Regions from separate parts of the Homo sapiens genome. Here region 1 is linked to region 2. Evidence: promoter capture Hi-C in 16 types of primary human blood cells and fetal thymus (Javierre and others, 2016). All regions are on one chromosome and are shown on one strand. Each heading gives the region's core, a stretch centred on a gene start or on the middle of the fragment in contact. The rest is flanking DNA. Distances are from core to core; before and after follow the strand shown. Region 1 overlaps XPO6 (exportin 6). Region 2 holds the start of IL21R (interleukin 21 receptor).

Region 1 (7,026 bases), core at 4,361-6,860, 790 kb after region 2:
CAGACATAATCAAGAGCCAGCAGCAGTTGTGATTATTTAATTATCTCTTAACTTCTTTCTTCCCACCTATCTCCCTTCCCCATATCCTCTCCATCAACCATGGACTGAGACCTGACTATAAAAACTGCATTTTAAAACAACAAGCCCACACTCAAATGTGTCACATGTCAAACTGTAGTATACCAGCGGCCTCCGTCGGGTGATTGACTTTGTGAAGACTGAGGAACAAATTTTCATCTCTGAGGAAAAACCAGCACTTCTCAGTACCAATTACAGAGGCTGAATCAGACTTGATTCATAAGCGTGTGCACACCAACCAACACACACAAGTGCACTCACTACACAGAACACAGGGCCACGTTCCTCCCACACTGAGGTCACAGAATGATGGCTCTGCAATGACACCTGAACTGCGACACACTGAATGATGAATTATTGTACAATACTTTGAGCGCTTGTGAGTGAGAGAGACTTTCTTCCCTGAACTTTGTATTTAGGATAAAGATTAGCCTAGCCCCCTACTCCTCTTTCAGACTTCCATATCGGTTTAACTAAAAAATATCCTTGGCTTGCAAGCCAAGCTGTTTTATTAAAAACTATCTATTTTTTCAAACCCAAAAATAAACTGAAAAGTGAAGCTAAAATAAGACTGCAATCTTCTAAAATGTTTCAAGTGTTTGTGTTGATCAAAACAGCCTCACTGTTCTCACTGACTTTATAAATAAATGCTATAAATGCAAACCTCTAAAATGAGTGTACATAATAAAAGAACGCCGTAGTCTGTTTCATAAATCGAGTCTGGTGTGCCATTTCATTTGAAAAAAGGATTTGCTATTTAAAATAAAAAGGCTGTGGGAAGATGCAGAAGAATCAAAAAAAATAGCACATGTTAAAATAAATCAATAGTTCTTCTGGAGCCAAAATGTGTTCCTGGAAACTAAGGACACATCTGCAAATCATATCTCTCCATAACTTCTTGTGTTGAATCATTTTAAAGTAGATCCTGCAGCAAACTTGAGCTTATCACATCCAGGCAATCAACCACCACCATTTATTTAGTACTAGATTCTTGAGGAAGAGATCTGAGAAATAAATGATTACTGGAAAGTTCCTGATAATCTCCAAAAAGAATCCAACTCTGCCACCATTCCCAGTCCCATCTACCCTTTACTCTCTGCCCCAACCCAAGAAGTTACAGTTCCTGCAGAAAGTGGAAGGACAAAAGTACTCCTAAGAATCCCAGATGGGCTGGCCCAAAGGTACTGAGTTATCTCACTGGACTGTTTGCAGTCAGTTACAGATCCAACTCCTTGTTCTACTCTTTCCCCCGTTCTCACTACTACACTTCACTAGTTTAAAAAAAAAAAAAAAAAAAAAACCCAGATGCATTTTCCCATTAAATGATGGCTACATGAAAAAGGAAGCTCCAAAACCAAATCCGGGGCATTACCAGGTGTTTCTCAACAAGAACAAATAAGTGCTGTTTGCATTTTTAATCATTTCTATATCTGTAACAACAATACCTGCCTCACAGGGTGATATGAGATCCAATCAGGCGATCCATGTAAAACTGCTACATAAACCATAAGGAATTATCTAATCTGTAGTTATGGCTGATCTCATTTTTATTTGGTCTTAGATACCAAATGAAAACAGACCAAAGCAAAACAACAAAAGTGGTCAGGCCTACTTTGAAACTAGAGACTCATGCCCTCAGGTTTAAGGGCTTTCTCCCAATCATATCTAGTGGGGCTTTTCAGACTAGATTTCAAAATGAAGCTATGTAAAATGTATAGGCGGGAAAAATCAGGAGGCCAAGAATTTGCTAACATCACACAATCAGAACAGAGGTAGAAAAGACATAGAAGGCACATTCAAGGATACTGGTTCAAGGATACTGGAGAATTCCCTGGCTCCCGTTTGGCAACAAAGCCACCGGAACCTTGGCCAGCTGTTTCAAGCAAGTGGTGAAGCCAGAAAGTAGATTGGGTGAGTTAAGGAATTAACTGCAAGTGAGGAAGAGGTAATACTCCAAGCAGATTACACTTTCAAGTAATGAAAGGGACAAAGAACATAAAACAAAATCCAAGTGCCATCGTGTGGTAGGGAGACAAGGCTTCCATTCCCAAAGGCTATTCAAAAACTTTATCTCCTGCGCTGCATTAATTTATGAAGAATAAGAAAATTTATCTGACTGCCTCCTACCTTGTGCTTGGGATTTAAGCCTCAGACAGATCTTGACAAACTAAGGAAAGGTAAGATAAGTTTAAAACTAAGTGAGACACATTCACACACAAAAATTCCAGTTGGATTGTAGATACAGAGTATCTTCACGAGCTAGGGGTAGGGAAAAATTTCTTAAACAGAACACATAAACCACTAACCATAAAGGAAAAGACTGGTAAGTTGAAATGTTCATCAGATGGCACAATGGAGAGAGTGTAAAAGAAAGCCACAAAATAGGAGCTATCTGCAATATGGAAACAGGGAACTCATATCAGAGCATAAAATAACTTCAACAAATCAGTAAAAAAAAAAAAAAAGACAAAGGACTTCAATTTTTTTGGACAGGCAAATAATTAATTATAAAAGAGGGTATTCAAAAAGCCTATAAATAAGTGTTCAGCCTCATTAGTTATCAGGAAAATACAAATTTAAAATAAGATAGTGCTACACATCTACCAGAAAGGCTAAAATTTAAACGACTGACAATAATAAGTGTTGATGAGGAGGCTGAGCAACCAGCACATGCATGTACTGCTGGTGGGAGTATACACTGGTACAACCACTCTAGAAAACTGACAGCTAAACATATGCATATCTTATGACCCTGCAATTCTACTCCTTGATATATACCCAACAGAAATTTTTACATGTATACCAAACGAAAACATACACAAATGTTCACAGCACTATTATACACAATACCCAAAAAGTCAAAAGAACCCAAATATCCGTCACCACTGGAATGGATGAATAGTGATTTCTTGATAGAGGAGAATATTATAAGACAACAGGAATTAATATTGCTACATGCAACAACACAGATGAATCTCACAAACACAATGTAGAGTGAAAGAAACCAAAACACAACCTTTCATTATTCACTTTATATTAATTTTAACAACAACAACAAAAAAAAGCCAGGCATAGTGGCCCACATCTATAATTCCAGCTACTTGGGGGGCTGAGGCAAGAGGATCACTCGAGCCCAGGAGTTCAAGGCTGCAGTGAGGTATGATTGCACCAATGCACTCTAGCCTGGGCAACAGAGCAAGACCTTGCCTCTTAAAAAATAATAATAATAATAATTTAAATAAGTAAAACTTATCTATGGTGTTATAATCAGACTAGTGGTTACCTTGGAGGAGGAGGGATTCTGGTAATAGTCTATTTCTTTATCTGAGTGTTAGTTACACAAAGATGATCAACTTTACAATTTATCTGCTTCTGTGTAAATATATACTGCAATTTTAAACACTTAATGTTTTAAAATCCTCATTTCTAAAGTCCAGGTTGGTGTTATCAGACTCTTTAGAAACTGTATTTTAGCTCTATCAGCACAACTATGGCTCTGGGGACTGGCAATAAGCCTGCAGGTAACAGTGTGAGCATGAGGCTCCTGATTTCTAGGAACCATCTCTTGTCTTCAGAGCTGCCAGGATGGCAGCACAAGGTATTACAACCCCATAAGCCTATGCTTCCCCAAGAGTTACTTGGCTCACCTCAATAGCAAATGGCACATACACTTAAAATCCTTGGGCAGGATGACGAATTAAGCTTGGCTCAGAATATACTCTTGGAGAGCTCTGCATAGATCTAAAACAAACCCAAGTTTTCTGTTCCAGAAACAGTTAAAACTGCAAAGGTGATAAGCTTGCAACTGTGCCTGCCCTGACTTTATCTGCTCCTTTTACTTTGCTGCTCATGGGTCAGCAGTTCAGAGATCTATGCCATTGACTCATTTATTAAGGGACTACTAAGTCCACCAAGACCCATAATCACCTAAAAAAATTAAAACTTGGAAGAAGCAGAAGGGTGACATAATTTGAGATCGCCTTTGCTTCTTCCCCATATTCTCCATCCACAGCAAACACCATCAGGTCTGCGGACTGTTGCTTCTCACTCTTTTGCAGGTTTGTACCTTCTCCCTCACCACTATTTCTACGGAGCCCTAATCATCTCCTGCCTACGTTACTATAATTGCTTTTACCTGGTTTCCAGGTTTTCCAATTCCAATCCAAACAGTACTTTACCGCCAGATAAATTCTCTTAAATATAGATTTTTCTGCCCCAGTTATTCTTTTTTTTTTTTTTTTTGCTAAAGACATGGTCTCTGTTGCCAGGCTAGAGTTCAGTGGCATGATCCTAGTTCACTGAGGCCTCAAACTCCTTGGCTCAAGCAATCCTCCTGCCTCAGCTTCAAATAGCTGAGACTACAGGCACATGCCACCACATCTGGCTTTTATTTTCATTTTTGTAGAGCCTGGGTCTTGCTCTGTTGCCGAGGTTGGGGTTGAACACCTGACTTCAAGTGATCCTCCCACCTTGGCCTCCCAAAATGCTGGGATCACAGGTGGGAGCCTCTGCATTCAGCCTAATTTTTTTTTTTTTTTAGAGACAGAGTGTTGCTGTATCACCCCAGACTGGAGTGCAGTGGAACAATCACAGCTCACTGCAGCCTCAAACCCCTGGGCTCAGGCGATCCTCCCCACTTCAGCCTCCTGAGAAGCTGAGACTATAGGCACATGCCATCACACCGCTCCAATTATTCTAAACCTAGCTTTAATTCTGGAGTGACTAAGCAACTCAGCTATTTGTTGGAGAAATGAGAATTCAATACTCACTAAGTAACTGATATTGCTTAAATTAAGCCCCTGGGATACAATGATGAGTAAGACGGTCCCTAACTTCAAAGAACTGAAGGTGGCCTAGCAGTTACATCCTGTAGTCCTGGCGTACATATAAACAGCCTCAGAAGACCAAAGAGAAAACTAACTCTATCTGAAGGAAAGAAAGCTTCAAAGGGGTGATTTGGGTTTTGAAGAGCAAGGAAGTTTACTAGGAGGATAAGAAGGAAAGCATGCCTGATTCAATGTCACTCGCCATAGGAAGCCACTCCAATCTGAACACTCATGGTCTCATAAGCGAGTACCTAGCCCCATCCTGCATTTGCTTCTGAGACTGCAATTTATAGTTTAACCTTCATGAATTTTCCTACACAGATTACAGTACAGATCAGGTCATTTACATCTTGTGTCTTTGTCTTGTAATCAGTACTACAGAATTTTGCCCTTGGTGCTGTTCTCTGGTCATTTCAGAATGGCAAAAGTTTTAAAATGCAGGCTCTAGGGTCAGGTTCCCCAAGTTTGAATCCAAATGTGCAGCTTGACCTTGGCCTAGTTATTTAATGTGTCACTGTTTCTTCTTGTGCACAAGTGGGGACAGTAAAAGTACCTAACATATTGGGTCATTCTGAGAATTAAATAAAATGTAAAATACATAGTAAACACAATGTCAGGCATGAAGTGTGGGCTGAAAGTCACTGTTCATACGTCATAGATATTAGGCTTCTCTACCCAGAACATCAACTGTCTGGAAAGATGCTCTATCTAGTATGTCTGTATTTTCTACAATATCTACCATGGGCTGGTGGCTCAACTATCTTAAAGACCAAATTCAAGACAGTAAAAGGAACAAGAAAACTGTTGGTATCACTTTCAGTTTCTCAAGAATACTGGTAATTCCTCCAAATTGAAGATACATGTGACTCTTTACATTTTCCCCTTTAAGGGTTCTGACCATAAGCAGACTTCTGCTCACACGCAGATTCAATCTGTGTTGAAAAACAGGAGACTGCTAACACTGAGACTGAAGGTGGATAATAAGGTGCTTTTCCCTAAGATGTAGCAGCTAGAAGGTGGTTTCCTCAAACCCTGATTAAATCTGTAATATGTTACCTAATGGCCTCTAAAACAACCCCCTCTAAGCATAACCTTTTTACAAAATTAATCTTGGGGAATAATGACTATTTTTTAAATTTTTTTTAAATAAAGATGGGGTCTTGCTATGTTGCCCAAGCTAGTCTTAAAACCCCCAGGTTCAAGCAATCCTCCCACCTATGCCTCTCAAAGTTCTGGGATTACAGGCATGGGCCAACATGCCCAGCCAAAAATGACTATTTTTTAAAGACACTTCTATTAAGCTTTTTGCCATCCTTTCCCAGAGCCTCATTTTGTATAATCTACTAGGAGGTGAATCATATGGGTCTCCTATATTCAGGTTCATGGGCTCATAGATACCAAACCTCAACAAAATGAGGACTAGTATCCCAGAGTGCCATTCAAATATCCCTGTGGCATATCTAGAACAGTGTCATTACCCTATTTGCTGTATATAAAGGTTTCGAAGAAAAGTGATTCTATCCCTGCTGCCAACGAAGGTTAAAAAGTATGCAAAACATATCCGGTGTGTTACAACACATGCGATTAGCAAAGATATTCAAACTCATGTAAACTTTCTCTGAAAGCTAACAGGATTACCATAGATGTCTAAACTCTCAGATCATCACTCTCACTTCCCTACACCCTTCACCACTGCAAAAAAAAAAAAAAAAAAAAAAAAAAAAGGAGAGAAAAAAATCTTTGACCTGTAGGCCTGCACACAAGTATGAGATGAAATACTAAGCTTAAAATAACATGCATGGGAACCAGGGCGAGTGACATCTACCTATCCCCCTCCTGAAGTCATTCAGCTCAAAAAGCCAGAAAGCTAGAAAAGTGCATCAAGGAAGCCCCAGTCAGGAGAACGACATTCAGAACAATGCTTCCTCCCATCTCTCCCTCCGGTCACTACTGCTCTTTTGCATCCCAGCCCGTAGATATTTTCCTTTTCCTTTTGTTTTCTGGAGGCACAGGTCTTGCTCTGTCGCCCAGGCTGGAGTACAGTGGCACAAACTCTATCTCCCGGGCTCAAGCTATCCTTCTACCTCAGCCTCCCAAGTAGCTGGGACCACAGCTGCACACC
Region 2 (7,311 bases), core at 4,812-7,311:
AGACTGAAAACTTTTCCACCAAGATCAGGAAAGAGGATGCCCACTTTCACCACTGGTATTCAACATTGCACTGAAAGTTTTAACCAGAACAATTCAGCAAGAAAAAGAAATAAAAGGCATTCAAATGGGAAAAGGAAAGAGTAAAAACTACTGTTATTCGCAGATGACATGATCATATATATGGAAAATTCTAAAGAACGCACAAAGAAATTATTAGAGCTAATAAATTCAGCCAAGTGACAGGGTATAAGATCAACATACAAAAATAAATTGTGTTTGTATATACTAGCAATAAACAACCCCAAAAGGAAATTAAATAAATTCTATTTATAATAGCATCAAAAATAATAAAATACTTAAGAATAAATTTAACCAAGGAGGTGCAAGATTTGTACACTGAACACTATAAAATATTGCTGAAAAAATTAGAAAAGACCTAAATAAAGTTTTTTAAATTCTATGTTAATGTAATGGAAGATTTAACATTGCACTCCTCAAAGTAATTTATAGATTTAATGCAATTCCTATAAAAGTCCCAATGGCCTTTTTTAAAAAATGGAAAAACTGATCCTAAAAATCATGTGAAATTTCAAGGGACCCAGAAAAGCCAAAACAATAAAGTTGGAGGACTCAAATTCCCATTTTTAAAATTTACTGCAGAGCCAAGATTGTGCCATTGCATTCCAGCCTGGGCAACAAGAGCGAAACTCTGTCTCAAAACAACACAAAAACAAAAACAAAACAAAACAAAACTTACTGCAGAGCTACAGTAATCAAAACAGTGTGATAATCCTGGCACAAGGCTAGACATATAGATCAATGGAATTGAACTTAGAGTTCAGAAATAAACCCATGAATCTATAGTCAATTTTTTTTCATTTTTTTTGCATTAAAGCACACTATCAACAAAGTGAAAAGACAGCCACAGAATGGGAAAAATATTTGTAATTCATATATCTGATAAAGGTGAGTTTCCAGAATATACAAAGAACTCTTAAAATTCAACAACAAATGATGAACAATCAAATTTAAAAATTGGCAAGGAGCTGGGCACGGTGGCTTATGCCTGTAATCCCAGCACTTTGGGAGACTGAGGTGGGCGGATCACCTGAGGTTAAGGGTTCGAGACCAGCCTGGTCAACATGGTGAAAACCCGTCTCTACTAAAAACACAAAAATTAGCTGGATATGGTGGCACACGTTTGTAAGCCCAGCTACTCGGGAGGCCGAGGCACAAGAATCGCTTGAACCCAGGAGGTAGAGGTTTCAGTGAGCCAAGATCACACCACTGCACTCCAGTGTGGGAGACAGATCAAGACTCTGTCTAAAAAAAAAATAAAATAAATAAAATTTGGCAAGGGACTTCAATAGACATTACTCCAAACAAGATATGCAAATGACTACCAAGCACATGAAAAGATGCTTACCATCATTAGCCATTAGGGAAATGCAAATCAAAACCACAATGAGATACCACTTCACATCCGCTAGGATGGCTATAATAAAAACCAACAGAAAATACATATTGTCTGCTGGGTGCGGTGGCTCACGCCTGTAATCCCAGCACTTTGGGAGGCCGAGGCGGGCGCATCACGAGGTCAGGAGATCGAGACCATCCTGGCTAACACGGTGAAACCCCGTCTCTACAAAAGAAAATACAAAAAATTAGCCAGGCGTGGTGGCAGGCACCTGTAGTCCCAGCTACTCGGGAAGCTGAGGCAGGAGAATGGCGTGAACCCGGGAGGCGGAGCTTGCAGTGAGCCGAGATCGCGCCACTGCACTCCAGCCTGGGCGACAGACCGAGACTCCATCTCAAAAAAAAAAAAAAAAAGAAAAAAAAAAAAAAGAAAATACATATTGTCAAGGACGTAGAGAAATGGGAACCTTCAGACATTGCTGGTGGGAATATAATACAGGGCAGCTGCTGTGAAAAACAGTTTGTCAGTTTCTTAATAAGTTAAACTTATTTAAAAGTTAATAAGTTAAACTACCTTTAACTCAACAAGTCTCCTTCTGGGTATATATCCAAAAGATTTGAAAATGCATGTCTACACAAAGACTCGCATGCAAGTGTTCATAGCATGCTTGTTTGTAGTAAAGGAAAAAGTGGACATACTCCAAATGTCCATCATCTCATGAAAGGATAAATGAATGTGGCATATCTATGCAATGTAATATTCTTCAGCAATAAAAATCAATTTTTATTTTTTATTTTTTTGAGATGGAGTTTCGCTCTGTCTCCCAGGCTGGAGGGCAGTGGCACTAGCTCTGCTCACTGCAACCTCCACTTCCCGTGTTCAAGCAATTCTCCTGCCTCAGCCTCCTGAGTAGCTAGGGCTACAGGTGCACGTCACCATACCTAACTAATTTTTGTATTTTTAGTAGAACAGGGTTTCACCATGTTGGCCAGGCTGGTCTCAATCTCCCGGCGTGTGCAACCACACCAGGCTAATTATTGTATTTTTTAGTAGAGGCGGGGTTTTACCATGTTGTCCAAGCTGGTCTCGAACTCCTGATCTCAAGTGATCCGCCCACCTTGGCCTCCCAAAGTGTTGAGATTACAGGCATGAGCCACCGCGCCTGGCCTAAAAATGGATTTTTAGATATGTGGTGCCAACACACGCTACAACGTGGTTGAACCCCAAACACGCGATGCTGAAAGAAACTAAACACAAAAGACAACATATTGATATGAGATGCCTAGGAAAAAAAAAAAGCAAAATCAGTAGAGGCATAAAGTAGACGAGTGGCCCTGGGAATGGGAATGGAGATTGACTATAAGCAGGCACAAGGAACCTTTCAGGAGTGATGGGATTGTTTTAAAATTGGATCGTGGTTATAATTGCACAATTCGATAAATTCACTAAAAATCATTGAACTGTACATTTACAGTGGCTTGATTTTATGTTATGTAAAACATAGCTAAATAAAGCTCTTAAAATAAAAATAAAAAAGAGGAAATGGGTTGAGGGAGGGGGTGTGTCAATTATTTTTTCCCAGGAGGCCCCTTGGCTGAAATGCAAATGTGACCACTTCCTCCCCGCTGACCAGCTATCAGCACTGAGGCATGGTTGGAGGGCCGCTGAGATCCTATGGCACCTTCCTTCCAAGGGTATAGAGGCCATACTTATGAGACATTTACAGACCCAGAGGAACCCCTCAAGGGACCACATGTCTATTTCTGAGGGGACTCATGTTTACCCCAGTGGACATGGGCCTGGCAGCTCCAAATGCATCTACTTTTTAAGCACCAAGGGACTGTGACCCCTGCTGATCCCACCCATTCCCCAACTCCTGGCCTGAACTGAAAATGTAAACTGGATTAAGCCACTCTTAAGATGAAACCCTCCAATGATGACTTCCCATTTCCTTTGGAACAATCTACCTTCCTCACCCAAAACCGTGAGGTCCCATGTGGTGTAGATGTGTGATTTCCGTGCCTTCACCTTCTACTATTCCTCCATTTGCTCACTGTATTACGCCATGCTGTTCTCAAGTTCCTGGAGCCAGCCACATTCTTTCCTACCTCAGTGCCTTTGCACTTGCAGATCCTTCTGCCGATAATGTTCTTCCCATGGCTGGGCACTTCTTAGCACCTAGTGTACCCCCAAATGTCACAACCTTGATCTCTCATTGGTTTTCTATGACATTTAGTACAGTTTACATTGAGTTTGTCTGTTACTTCTTTTTGTCTAACTCTCCCTACTAGAATATAGGCTCCATGGGGGCTGTCACTGTGTGTATATTTCTGTGGGCTAGCCCCAGGATGTAGCCAAGCTGCGTGATTTTGGACAAGTCACTTAACCTCTCTGAGCCTGCTCAATAAATATTAGGGGGAGGAAGCAAGGAATGGCTGGGTGGGTGGGTGCAGAGAAGAATGAATGGGTGGATAGGTAGGTGGGTGGGTAGAAAGCAGGTAGATAAAGAAGGCAGGCAGGAGGGAGGGAGGAGAAATTGAATATCCTTGTTTTCATACACACCCCAGAGCAGTGTAGTGAGTTAAGAGTGCGGGCTCTGGAGCCCAAATGACTGAGTTCAAATCCCAACTCTGGCACTCATCAGCTGTGTGACCTTGGACAAGTCACTTAACCTCTCTGAGCCTCAGTTTCCTCATCTGTAAAACAGGGACGATGATGATGATGATGATAACTATCTTCTAGACTCATTCTTTTTCATTTTGGGGATTTTATTTTTGAAGACAGAGTCTTGCTCTGTTGCCCAGGCTTGAGTGCAGCACTACAGTCATAGCTCACTGCAGCCTTCAGCTCCTTGGCTCAAGTGGTCCTCCCACCTCAGCCTCCAGAGTAGCTGGGACTACAGGCGTGCACCACCATGACTGTCTAATTTTTAAATTTTTTTATAGAGACAGGGTCTTGCTATGTTGCCCAGACTGGTCTTGAACTCCTAGCCTCAATCGATCCTCCCACCTCAGCCTCCCAAAATGATGGAATTATAGGTGTGCACCGCTGCACACAGCCTTCTCGAGTATTTCTGAGGTTTAAATGAGAGGGTGCATCTTTAAAGTCCTTAAAACCCTGGCACACAATGAGCTTTCAGCAAATATTAGCTCTTTTTACTGTCTCTTCTCCTGATCTTTCAACCACTACAAATTTCAGTGCATGTTATCAGAGAATTCACCCCGAAGATCAAGAGAAAGAAAAACAAAAGCTGGTGTCTTCCCAAGGTTCGTTCTCCAGAGAACACGACACACTTCGGTAGCTGGGAAGAGCTCTACAGGGCCAGGATCCCTCAAATCAACCACAGGGGAATTTGTACCAAGTTCCTCAAAAACAGCTAGAAAAAAAAAGAAAGAAAGAATAGCAAGACGCTTTCTCTTTTTTCTCTGGAGTGGTCACGAAAGTCAACAGCAAGTTGATTCCCAAAAATGAGTCAGCAGGGAGAGCTACAAATTGCATCTTGTTATCAAAACAGCATAAAATAGCCTCCCCCAACTGTGGGACATTTCATCCTGGTATGGCCCCGTTTTCACAGCCTGGTATAAGCTTAGGAATCAAACACACCCAGGTTCAAATCCCAGCTCTAATTCTTCTTGGCTTGTGTGACGTTTCACTCCTCTGGGCCTCAGTCTCTCCATCTGTAAAATGGGACTAATCTTGTCTGCCTCACACTTTGTGGGATAAAGTGAGATCATGTAGGCACCAAAGTAATTCGAGGTGGTGGTGATGGCAGTGGTAGTGGTGGTGGTGGTAGCGGTGGTGGTGGTAGCAATTCTCTTGCTCTCCTTTGGAGACTGCACTAGGCATTAAGCTTGTTACATTTTGTCTCCTGGTTTCTTGAATGTCTTCCAGAAACATCTGACCCTCTCATGGGCCTCTGGCATGTTAGCAAGATGAAAACTCTCTTGAGAATTTCTTTTCTCTATTTTCTTCTTGAATTCTCATGTGTTAATGTCTGCCCTCTTCCTCATAGCTAGGTGCCCCCATTTGACAGATGGGCAAAGTGAGGCATTCAGAGAGGTGATGTGACGTGCCCAAGGGGTCCTGCTCCCTGGAGCTCTGCAGCAGGAGACTGGATCCAAAGGAAATGGAGGCAGAGAGGCATGGGGGTCAAGCCAGAGCAGAGGGTCCCAAGCTCAGACCCTATTAGGCAGGTAAGGCTCAGGAATAAGAAACAGGCTGGTTTGCAAAGTCTGAAAAAGGGGCTTCCGTGGGACCTTGGGCAAGGTTCTGGTCCTTCTCTCTGTGCTGAGGGGCTGGAGTCGGCCACTGAGGACTCTGGGTCCACGGGTGAAACTGTGCCACATCTTCACACCTCTGGCCTCAGTTTCCATATCTGTGCAATGTGGTGGCTCCAGGAGGCACTGCCTGCCTCATGGGTTATGACTGAGAGGCCTGTGGGGATGATGTCACAGGTCCCTAAGAGGGAAGTGTCACCCCGATGGCCCCAAATGTCTTACTTGCAGGTGACCTTTGGTGACAGTGGGTGCCTGCTGTGGGGCCAGGCCCCCTCCCACCTCTTTCTCACTCCCTCCCAGGAGGAGCCCAGCTGCGGGTGGGCGGGGCTGGCGGGGAGCGGCTCACCACATCCTCCTCTTCCTCCCCACTCTGCACATGCGGCTGGGTGGCAGCCAGCGGCCTCAGACAGACCCACTGGCGTCTCTCTGCTGAGTGACCGTAAGCTCGGCGTCTGGCCCTCTGCCTGCCTCTCCCTGAGTGTGGCTGACAGCCACGCAGCTGTGTCTGTCTGTCTGCGGCCCGTGCATCCCTGCTGCGGCCGCCTGGTACCTTCCTTGCCGTCTCTTTCCTCTGTCTGCTGCTCTGTGGGACACCTGCCTGGAGGCCCAGCTGCCCGTCATCAGAGTGACAGGTCTTATGACAGCCTGATTGGTGACTCGGGCTGGGTGTGGATTCTCACCCCAGGCCTCTGCCTGCTTTCTCAGACCCTCATCTGTCACCCCCACGCTGAACCCAGCTGCCACCCCCAGAAGCCCATCAGACTGCCCCCAGCACACGGAATGGATTTCTGAGAAAGAAGCCGAAACAGAAGGTAATTCCAGCCCTGGTTTTCTGCTGGGACCAGGGTGCCTTCTCTGCCCAGGAGGGACTGTTCCCTGCCTGCTGCATCTAGTGTCACAGTGGGAGGGCTCGGAGGACTGTGCCCAAGTCACAATTGGGGACACTGAGGCAAAGAAGATTCATGCAGTGAGGCTGGGCAGAAATGAGGTTGGGGTCTCTTGTTCAGCACAGCTTAGGGGCCCAGCAGCAGGGATGTGGCTGAGACGACCCTCTATCTTGAAAACCAGCCTCCAAAATGTAGCGGGCTGGGGAAGGAAAGCCAGTTTCAAGCCAAACATAACATGTCAATCACCCGATTCTGGGCGGCTGAGTCGGGAGGTGACGGGCATGGGTGTAGAGCCTGATGGGACCCATTCTGTGTCAGTTTCTATGTCTTACCACCTTGATTCCACCCAGTCATTCAAAACAATGGCTGGTGTGCCCATTTCGCAGATGAGGCAATGAGGCTGCGAGAGGTAGAGTGATTTTCCCTCGGTGACTCAACTGGGACGTAGCAGGTCGGGCAGTCAAGCCAGGTGACCCCATGAGCTGTCGCTGCATCTTTCTCATGAAGCACGGGGAACGGGTCGGATGGTAAGAGGCCAACCCAGTTCCCTGTGCATGTGGAGGAGAGGAGGGTGGGGAGGTCAGTGGAGGCTGAGCCTTGAAGGATGGGAAAGGAAGAACATTCCTGGTGGAGGAGCCCTGGGGAGCGGGAACTTAGGACTTGCCGCAGGAATGACGTCTCTGCTCAGTGAAGGCAGAAGACCAGGTGCGGGACATTCAAAGCCAGGAGG

What was found. The method cuts DNA at HindIII sites, captures the fragments that hold promoters and counts their contacts. A CHiCAGO score of 5 or more calls a contact.
Region 1: a fragment that was not itself captured here is called in contact with the fragment with the promoter of IL21R in region 2 in 1 of 17 cell types (monocytes); the score reaches 5.2 in monocytes.

Annotation. Positions count from the first base shown.
Region 1 is chr16:28,182,072-28,189,097 of GRCh38, forward strand. The region is part of intron 1 of XPO6 (exportin 6); the gene reads right to left. It also overlaps the pseudogene RNY1P10. Among named protein-coding and RNA genes, the nearest start is that of XPO6, 26 kb to the right of the region's middle. RefSeq lists enhancers at 5,601-5,770, 6,855-6,904. The HindIII fragment of the contact is 1,186 bases long and covers 5,018-6,203 here.
Region 2 is chr16:27,396,113-27,403,423 of GRCh38, forward strand. It overlaps IL21R (interleukin 21 receptor), which reads left to right and starts at 6,062. Exons shown (of 9, transcript NM_181078.3): 1 at 6,062-6,506. RefSeq lists enhancers at 6,139-6,681, 6,574-6,693. The HindIII fragment of the contact is 2,346 bases long and covers 5,266-7,311 here.